3 separate regions of the Homo sapiens genome follow, and all the other regions are linked to region 3. Evidence: promoter capture Hi-C in human tissues and cell types (Jung and others, 2019). All regions are on one chromosome and are shown on one strand. The core of a region is centred on a gene start or on the middle of the fragment in contact, and the rest is flanking DNA. Distances in the headings are between cores, read along the strand shown.

The links. Contacts are between HindIII fragments. The study calls those that stand out against the background at their distance.
Region 1: a contact is called between a fragment that was not itself captured here and the fragment with the promoter of ALX4 in region 3, in 4 of the 25 tissues and cell types used here (H1 embryonic stem cells, bladder, spleen and 1 more).
Region 2: a fragment that was not itself captured here is called in contact with the fragment with the promoter of ALX4 in region 3 in 2 of the 25 tissues and cell types used here (H1 embryonic stem cells and mesenchymal stem cells).

What each region holds. Positions count from the first base shown.
Region 1 is chr11:44,411,879-44,414,719 of GRCh38, forward strand. No RefSeq gene overlaps it. Among named protein-coding and RNA genes, the nearest start is that of ALX4, 100 kb to the left of the region's middle. RefSeq lists an enhancer at 2,265-2,841. The HindIII fragment of the contact is 5,501 bases long and covers 1-2,841 here.
Region 2 is chr11:44,193,154-44,196,408 of GRCh38, forward strand. The region is part of intron 8 of EXT2 (exostosin glycosyltransferase 2); the gene reads left to right. Among named protein-coding and RNA genes, the nearest start is that of EXT2, 99 kb to the left of the region's middle. The HindIII fragment of the contact is 7,479 bases long and covers 1-3,255 here.
Region 3 is chr11:44,308,535-44,311,765 of GRCh38, forward strand. It overlaps ALX4 (ALX homeobox 4), which reads right to left and starts at 1,605. Exons shown (of 4, transcript NM_021926.4): 1 at 1,063-1,605. The coding sequence starts at 1,528. RefSeq lists an enhancer at 1,583-2,511. The HindIII fragment of the contact is 16,665 bases long and covers 1-3,231 here.

The sequences.
Region 1 (2,841 bases), core at 295-2,794, 100 kb after region 3:
AGGTCACCTGCACCCCAAGAAGCTTCTTTGGGAAAGAGAAGGTGAAACAGGCAGGTGTTGCCTTGGAGGTTGAGACCTGGTGTCAGGAGTGGGACAGCTATTGATTTGTTGGCCTATAATCTCTTTATTTTCCCTTTCACTGGTGACATGTTTTCCCGTTCCCCTGAAGGACATCACCTTCTTTATTCCATGTGCTTCTGGCAGAGATATCCATCCCAGAGCCTTCCCCTGTCCTTGTACCGTGGCTCACATATGATGTTGTGTCTCTGTTAGAATGCTTTCACTTCCAAGTAACAGAATGCACAGCTAACTTAAACAATAAAGACATGTAATTGTCTCCCATAAGAACAAAATCTGGAAGCAGAGATCTCTGAAATTTGGTGAAACAGCTGAATAATATCATCAAAGACTCAGATTTTTATTATTCTACTGGTATTACTGTGTTGGAGTTTTGTCTTTAGGTTTGTTGGCTTATGGTGGCAAGAGGGCTGCAGTGGCTTTTGCATCATGAATATGTTCAAAAGCAGGGATGGAAGCATCTTTTCTTCTTGCTAACCTGGCTCTTACCAGAGAGAGACTTTCCCAGAGTATACCAGCATGCTTCCCCTTACAACTCACTGGCAGAATGGAGCCGTCTGGCTACCCTCAACTATAAGCAAAGCTGGGAAAGTTGAGTTTCCGATTTTTTCAGCCTTCAAAATAGGAAATGGGTAAAGAAGAGCAGAAATGGATACTTGGTAGATAACAAAGGGTGTTTGCCTCATAAAGACACAGCCAATCATGTCTACAAGGGTTGGTCCAAAGAGTAATCATATGGTGGAAACAGGGCCTATCAGAGTTCTCTCTGGGATTTTACACAAGGATGCTCAAAAGAGACGCACTAGGTCTTCTCAAGTCAAAGGGCTGAGCTAATATAAGCTTGGGATTCTTTGTGGCTGTGGCCCTTTCCTTTCTCCTGCTGAGTGGAGGGAGCTGGTCTTCAGTAGGAGAAAAGGAGGCCAATGCAAAGTAGAGCAGAACAAAGGATGAAGAGAGACAGATGGGGCAGGGGGAGAATGAACATATTTGAATTCCTGATTCCTCATTACTGAGAAGTGCTTTGGACTTCCTGAATTTTGCTTAAATAAATTCAAATTGGATTTTAATTATTTACAATCAAAGTTTTCTGATTGTTTCCAGGCTCATTGATAGCTTTCAGCATCCTAAGGACAGGTATCTTCTTGCTCCCAGTGGGTCATGGGACAGAAATGGGTATGTTGAACCCTTCCCCGCACTTCTGATGCCTGGAAAAGGGACTTGGCCAGAGGCTTGAATCTACAGTTAACCAAATCCAAGCCTAGGAACCACAGACAGATTGCCATAGGCTAGATGAGGGCCCCAGTGTATGTCTTCTTGGGGCAGAAAGGGATATCAGTTACCCCAATCTCGGTGACCAGGACAGTTTCAGAGTCCAGCCCAGTCCATGTTACAAAAGATAATAATAAAGCCAACGCTTAAAGAATGTCACTAAGTGCCAGTTTACATTTATTATCTTATTTAATTCTTACCATAGCCCTCCCAGACCACTTTAGCAATGAAAGATGCCATTTTGGCAATGAATAAAGTAAGGCACAGAGAGGTTTAAGAGAAATGTATATGCAACAGTAACGTAGAAACCTTTCTTCAAGTCTTCATTATTTCAAGAACTATCTTTTTTCCCTAACACTTAAAATGCTTATGTGAATTTTGTGTGTGTATATAAGTTATACATAGCGGGACATGCATACTGTTGGCCCTCTGTATCCACAGGTTCTGCATCTGCAGATTCAACTAACAGTGGATGGAAAATATTTGGGAAAAAAGGCAAGAAAAATATAATAAAAATAATACCAATAAAAAACACAGTGTAACAACTATTTACATAGCATTTACATTGTATTAGGTATTAAAAGTAATCTAGAGATGATTTAAAATATACAGGAGGATGTGCCTAAGGTAGATAGAAATACTATGCCATTTTATATAAAGGGCATGAACATCTCTGGATTTTGGCATCTGCAGGGATCTGGAACCAATCCCCTACAGATCCAGAATAACTGTATATGTATATTTTTCAGGCTTTGTACTTGGGTAATTTCAATCAATCCCTATTTTCTTAAACTAGTTGCTTCAATGTAAAACCTGAATTTTTTATTTTCACAGATAGTTATAGGTAAAAATCCAGTGGTATCTTGCTTCATGGTAGAAATGCATACTGGCAGAATTGTGTACAGAGTGGAATATTATGAAGGTATGGGGATGAAAAGATACTGGGTGGGGTTACCTTTCTTAGAGATCTTTTAAAGTAGGATTGCATTGGTTTTCTATTGCTGCAGAACAAGTTAGCACAAACGTAGTGGCTCAAACCAACACACACAAAACTATCTCCCAGTTTCTGTGGCTCAATAGTCTGGGCACAGTCTAGCTAAATCCTCTGCTTGGGCTTCAATCCAGAAGTTGCTGGAGCTGTAGTCTCATCAGAAGCTTGGCTGAGGAAAGACTCATTCCAAACTCACTGAGGTTATCAGCAGAATTTATCTTCTTATGGCCGTAGGACTGATGTCTCCATTTTCTTGCTGGCTGTCAGCAGTTAGCTGCTATCAGCTTCTAGAGGCCAACCCAGTTCTTTGCCATATGCATCCCCACCACAACAACATGACACTTTATTTCTTTAAAGCCTGCAAGGGAGTCTCCTTCTCGAATCTGCTAAGATGGAGTCTTTTATAATGAAACATAATCATTGAAGTGACATCGCCTTTCCTTTGCAACATCCTATTGGTTGAAGAAAGTCACGTCACAGGTGTGTCCTTCACTCAAGGGGAA
Region 2 (3,255 bases), core at 708-3,207, 120 kb before region 3:
GAGGTAGAGAATCCAGGTAAACCAGGACCTTGAAACATGATAAGGTAAAGAGAGGGAGAAATAAGGACTTCATTTGGGATTCTTGTACTGCAATTCATTTGGAATTCTTGTGCTGCAAGAGATCTCAAGACTGCTTAGGCTACCTCCTATCCACTTTTGAGACACATGGAACGTAAAGCCTGGAGAAATTATAACTCACACAAGATCAACCATTGGCTACAATTTATTGAATGCTTCTACATGACAGTACCTTACATATATTACCTCATTTATGCTAAGTAATACTACCTAGAAAGATGGTAATAGTTATATGATGATTTTTATAGACAGAGAAACTGAGGTACAAGAGAGATTAAGTACTTTGCCCAGGCTATGCAGCTGGCAAGTGAAAGAACCTGGATTCCGATTAAGAACTTGTGATTCCAAAACTGACTTCAAACATGCTAACTCAATTTTGAAGCCATTTGCATTAACCCTGGTGGTGTGTTCTACAGTAAATAATTGAGCCTGTGTTTGAGTAGATGTATGCTTAGAAGCTTACATACTGCCTCCTGTGTTCATCTCCACTTCTGGATTTTAAGGGACGGTATTGGCAAGATCCAGTTCTCCTTATGCTCCTTTCCATGCTGTCCATACCCCCCATGCTGCCTTCCCTGCTTCTCCAGTACTCAAGCCCTATTTGGGATGCAAGTGGGCAGTGGGGAAAAACAACATTAAGAAAAGTTACTGTCCACTTCCCAGCCAACCATTCCTTCCTGTCCTTCCTCCTCCCCTACCGATTCACTTCCCAAGTGGAGCTGGCATGTGGGATGAGACCCGATCTGTTGTCTTGCCAGCGACTCTGGTTCCATGTCCCTGGCAGCTCCTTGAAATCAGAGCTGCGATGCCTTTCAGGGCTGCCTCAGTTTAAATGCCAAGGCATTCGTTTTGTGAGCCTAAGCTTTGCATCTCTTAGGGAATTTTCCTCTCTTCTTAATGTCATAAAGACATTTAAGTGTGTTGGCATTCTCCCCTCTTCTCCCAAAGAACAGACCTCATTCTGTTGGAGTTTTAATAGTTTTTCCTTCTGTTTTAGTGGTGTATTTACCTTTTTAAATTTATGTGCACACTTTGTGTCAGTGTTATATATTCGGTGTGTTTTTATTCCATAGACTTTCTGAAATCATAGTGTTTGGGGTGGGTTCTTGCTTATTGGCCCAGATTTTATTAACAAGGATCAAGAACTTTTAGGATTTTTGTCTTAGAAAAGAGCTAGAAGTAGCAAACTCTGGAGTTCCCCACACTTGAATTTTCCAAAGTCTATAAAATGGTAATGCATACCCAGTTTGGGTATGTATGTAGGAGGGCATAGGGAAGGGCTGTGAACCATTACCGTCTGGTGTTCTGAAATCAGATTGCTTGAGTTGTATCTCAGTTCCATCACTTACAGGTTATATAGCCTTGAACATCATTTGCTATTTCTAGTTCTACAGTTTCCTCATCTGTAAAGTGAGAACAATAACCGTATCTATCTTGGGGGTTGTTGTGAATATCTAATGAGGTAATACATGTAAAGCACAGTATTTTGCACTTAGTAAGTACTCAGTAAATCTTGACTGTTTCAATATCACACATTAAATCATTTTATACACTTTTTTAAAGGAATCTTTTTGTTTCTTTTCCACTTAAAATGGTGTTTTTCAAGCAGGCATTAGTGAGTATTGTGTCAAGAGGGTTAGGTGAGTGGGTTGGGGATAGTGATGGCACATAGACCATGAACGGTCCCTGGGGATTAATTATGACTTAAATATAGGGCTACTTTCTGACTTCAGTTTCCATAAAGGTCAGGAAGAGATGAAGAATAAAATTTGGGGTAGAAAACTCAAAAAGGTTTCTAGAAGTACAATGAGTTGCTAAGGTACAAATACTAAAATCCAGGCACCTTCCTAAGACTACAGCTTAATATCAAAGTGTGATGTCATGGAAACAGAAGATCAACATTGAAAAGATGGCCTTTCCTGGCCGGGCGCGGTGGCTCACACCTGTAATCCCAGCACTTTGGGAGGTTGAGGCAGGTGGATCACCTGAGGTCGGGAGTTCGAGACCAATCTTACCAACATGGAGAAACCCGGTCTCTACTAAAAATACAAAATTAGCCCAGTGTGGTGGTGCATGCCTGTAATCCCAGCTACTTGGGAGGCTGAGACAGGAGAATCTTTTGAACCCGGGAGACGGAGGTTGAGGTGAGCCGAGATTGCACCATTGCACTCCAGCCTGGGCAACGAGTGAAACTCTGTCTCAAAAAAAAAAAGAAAAAGAAAAGATGGCGTTTCCTATTGTGTCTCTTGGTTGTGAAATCTAATTATAGCATGTTGTGGACATTTTGGCTTTAATATCCTGATTACATTAGGACCCTAGGAATCCCATTCAGCTTCTTTGAGTTTCCATCCCATATGTATTCCATGGGTTTGTGTGCATTTCTCATCCCACACTGTTACATCTGGCAGACAGCTGTTGTCACAAAGTTGGTGATGGGTGTCCATCAGTGATATGGATGAGATTGATAGGGAACCTTGGCAATCCCAGAGTATAAAAGACTAGGGAAGTATGCAGCAGCCATAATAGCAGATAGGACATTTCATTCTCAGCCACCTTCTGGCAAAGATGGAATTCAGTCCTGGGCTTTTTGCATGATAACATATGAATATGAATGTAATTAATGCCACCGAATTACACATTTAACAATGGTTAAAATGGCAAATTTAATATTATATATATTTTACCACAATTTTTAAAAGTGAACAATGTAATATACCAAAACCATTATATGCTTTAAGTGGGTAGATTGTATGGTATATGAATCATATCCTAATAAAGCTGGTAAAATATATAAGAACATTTAAATAATCTTAATTATTATCAGTGCAAAAATATTTTTGCTTACATTGCTGTATTAAAAGTACTTAATATTTTAATGGTAGCAAAGAGATTGACTTTCTTTCATCACTTTTTAAACTTTATTTTAAAAACATTTCACATTTAACTGATAACTTTTGAGAATTGTACATTGAACTCACATGTTCCTCACCTATTTTCACACATTGTGAACATTTTCTCTTTATTCTCTGTGTTCAGAAATATGCACTTTGATATGGCAGTGGTTTTTGTTTTTTTATTTTTGTCTTTTTAAAAAATTCACTGTGCTGCTTCTGTTAATCCTTTGCAATCTGAAAATTCATGCCTCTTATATCTTAACGTACTGAGAACTTCTTTAAT
Region 3 (3,231 bases), core at 355-2,854:
TCCCCTTCCGCTTTGGGGTTCAGGAACCCCGATTCTCTGGAAGAAGAGAAGGCCTAGGCTACTGAGCTGCTCTGGCTAGAGACGTCCTTGAGTGTCTCTCTCTCCCGGGCAATGGTGGCTGTGCTCTGGGGGGCCCAGGCCTGCCTCCTGTGGCTGCGTTCAAGGCAGCTTGGAGGTCATTTAGGCCAGCTCCCCCGGGTTCCCCGTGGGCTCAAATCAGGACCCAGACCCTTCTCTCTTGCCACAGCTCTGGGCCACCTGGGACTCGGGACTTCCTGTCTCCCTTCCTACTCTGTCCTAAACCATTGTTCAGAGGCCTGCCGCCTCCAAGAATCGCCGAGGGAGAAGCTCCAGGGGAACTGGCCTGCCCGCATCCCCACTGCCAGTAGCGCTCAGGGTCCCAGGACTCGGGTCTTGCCAGACCACAGTGTCCCCTGGGACCCTAGGGTCTCTGGCTCCGCACTGTGTTGCGCCAGTGCGCCTGGATTTCCCGTGAGCTTTCGGCCAACCACGCTCCGGGCTTCCCGCCTGGCTCCGCACCTGCGGCGCTCTCACCTGCGGCGGCGCCGCCCGAGGAGCCTCCCAGCCGGCGAGGAGCGAGGCTTCTGCAGTCCTGCTGTCCCGCAGCCCCGCAGCCCCGCAGCCTCGCAGCCCCGCAGCCCCGCAGCCCCGCAGCCCCGCAGCCCCGCAGCCCAGCGCCAGAGCGCTGCGCGGAGACTCCTTGCCGCCGCACGCCCTGGGCCGGTAAGAAGCATCCGCTTCAAATCCCGCCCAGCGGGCAGCGCAAAGCGAGCGGTTTGGGGAAATGCCGAAGGGACCGGGAAAAACAAACTCCAAGTCGAGTTTAACAGCCGAAACGCTCCGTGCCTAGGCCGGCGGACAAGAAGGAGACAGAACAGATCCCTTGGCTCCCTCGCAGCGATCGATCCCGTTTACCGACCAGAGTCACCACCCCGCCCCCAGCCCGCCAACTCATACCTCCCGCAAGCCACCAGTTTCAAGGGATGCGGAAGCCAAGCACCCCGTGGTCCCCAGCACCAGGTGACCCGCACGTGCACTCACCGTAGCAGGGAACCTGCAAGGCCGCGCTGTGGCCGCTGCTGCCTTCCTGGAGTTTGAGGCTGCCGTCCGGGGGCGTCTTGCAGGCGCCTCGCTGCAAGTAAAGATGCGGTTGCGCGGGCGGCTGGGGCTGCGGCTGCTGCTGCTGCGGCTGCGGCTGCGGCGGCGGCTGGGGCTGCGGGGTCGACGGCTGGGGCTGGAACTTGTTAAAGGAGCCCCGCGCCCCAGCTCCACTCTCCAGGGGTGTCGCCAGGTCCTGCTGCCCAGCGCCGTAACGGGCCCGGCTCTTGGCGTCCCCGAATCCCTGTGCTTTGGCGGCGGCCGACAGGAAAGTTGTGCCGAACTTGTCGCCTCCGGGAAATGCCCTAAAAGGCGACGAGCCCTCCCGACTCTGCGACACCGGGCTGTAGTAGGCGTCCATGGCAGCGGCCGGCGACTCGCAGTAAGAGACGCAAGTCTCAGCATTCATGCCTGGCTTGCGCAGGCGGCGGGCGGGGACGCGAGCGAGGGCGCGAGGACGCCACCGCGCGCCTTGGCTGGGAGTTTGGGGAGGCGAGGAGGCTGTGGCTGTGCACTCCTTGCCCGGCCTGCTCGCTCTCCCTCCTCCCCTCCACGCCGGCCTCTCTCTCTCTCCCCCTCTTCTTTCTCTGTCTCTCTCCTCTCTCTCCCTCCTCTCTCTCTCTTCCCCTCCCTCCCCCCCCCTTCCTCTCTCTCTCCCTCTCTCTCTTTCCTCCCTCCCCACAGCTAGCCGAGGGAAAGAACGGAGGGCAGTAAAAAGATTCAGATGTTTCGGAAAGTTGACCAGATCTCCCAAACCCTCTTAAGGTTTTGCAGCGGAAAAAAAAAATAAGTAAATTTTTTTCCCTGCCTTGCTTCTTCCTTTCCCCCTCTCTCGTCCCCTCCTCCTCTCTCCTTCCACTGGCCCCTGCCCCCTCCTCTCCACTCTTAAGGAGATGCTACTAACTCGCTAGCGGGGATTCAACCCGGAGGCGCCCGAGGGCTTTTCCGATTCTAGGCGGGGCTGGGGAGATGCCAGGATCCCCAGGGCTCCCGAGGCTAGGCTGAGAATTGGCGGGGTGTCGGAGCTTTGCCTTAGGGCAAAGGGAAATGCAAATTTTAATGACAGGTTAAAAAAAAGCCCCCCAAAATAAACCTAACAGGTTTTGACATTCGAAGCCAGGGGGACCACGGGCCTGCGGATGCAAGCGAGTCCTACGGACTCCTGCGCGCGAGCTCGCGGGCGCCGCTGCGGGCCTTCCCGCTGGCACCTTTTCCTAGGTTTCCAACCTTCCTCCCCATTCCCGTTCCTACGGGAGATTAACACACACACAAGCCTTCGTCGTCCAGTGCATGGTCACTTGCACGTCTTGTTAACTATTTCCCTCTGCTGTAAGGGCGCTGGGCTGGGATGTAGCGGAATCTGTGCTCCCTCAAGCCCTGGAGAAGCCCTGGGCTGGGCCCGGCTTCAGAAGCTTTAGAGCGCTGCCCTCTGCGCTCCCGTCTAGAGGCCGCACCGTTCACGCCCCACGTCTGCGCCCAGGCGAGGGGATTTCCTGCCAGGCGAAGTACAGAGAGCGGACTCTGGAGACCCCCTGACCTTGCCCGATAGTCGCGCTGTCACCTGTTCACTCCTTGGGGTCAGGGGTCGGGGAGAGGGGTGAGACCGTCTCTTCCCTTTCTGGCCTCACTGCCCCCGACTGTAAAACGAACTGCTTGGTTTTGATAGGTTGTGGTTTCACCACCACTGCGAGCCTCAAGGCCCCTGGCACCGCCACAGCAAGGGAAAAAACTTTGCGCGTGCAGCCCCTCGATTTCGCTTCATGACAACCGTGCTAGAGATTGGCGCCCCCAATTTTCTGATGAGCTAACGGAGGCTCAGAGAGGGGCGGCCACCTGGTCCAGGTCACACAGCTGGGAAATAGCCGTCGCGCCCTGGAACCTCTGCTCAGGCTAGTCCCTCCACCGACCTGGAAGGCCGTGCGGACAGCGTAGATGCAGAGGGGAAACTGGCCCCCGGCTGTGGAATGGTTCAAGTTGAAGGAGACCAGCGAGAGCAGCCTTCCTTAAACCGCTGAGAAAATCGTTAAGCGAGAACGTACCTCTAGGGAGTCTGGGAGTAGGGTGAGAGGTAAAAGTGCAAGGTAAAATTAAAGAGGGCCTGAGCACCGTGAA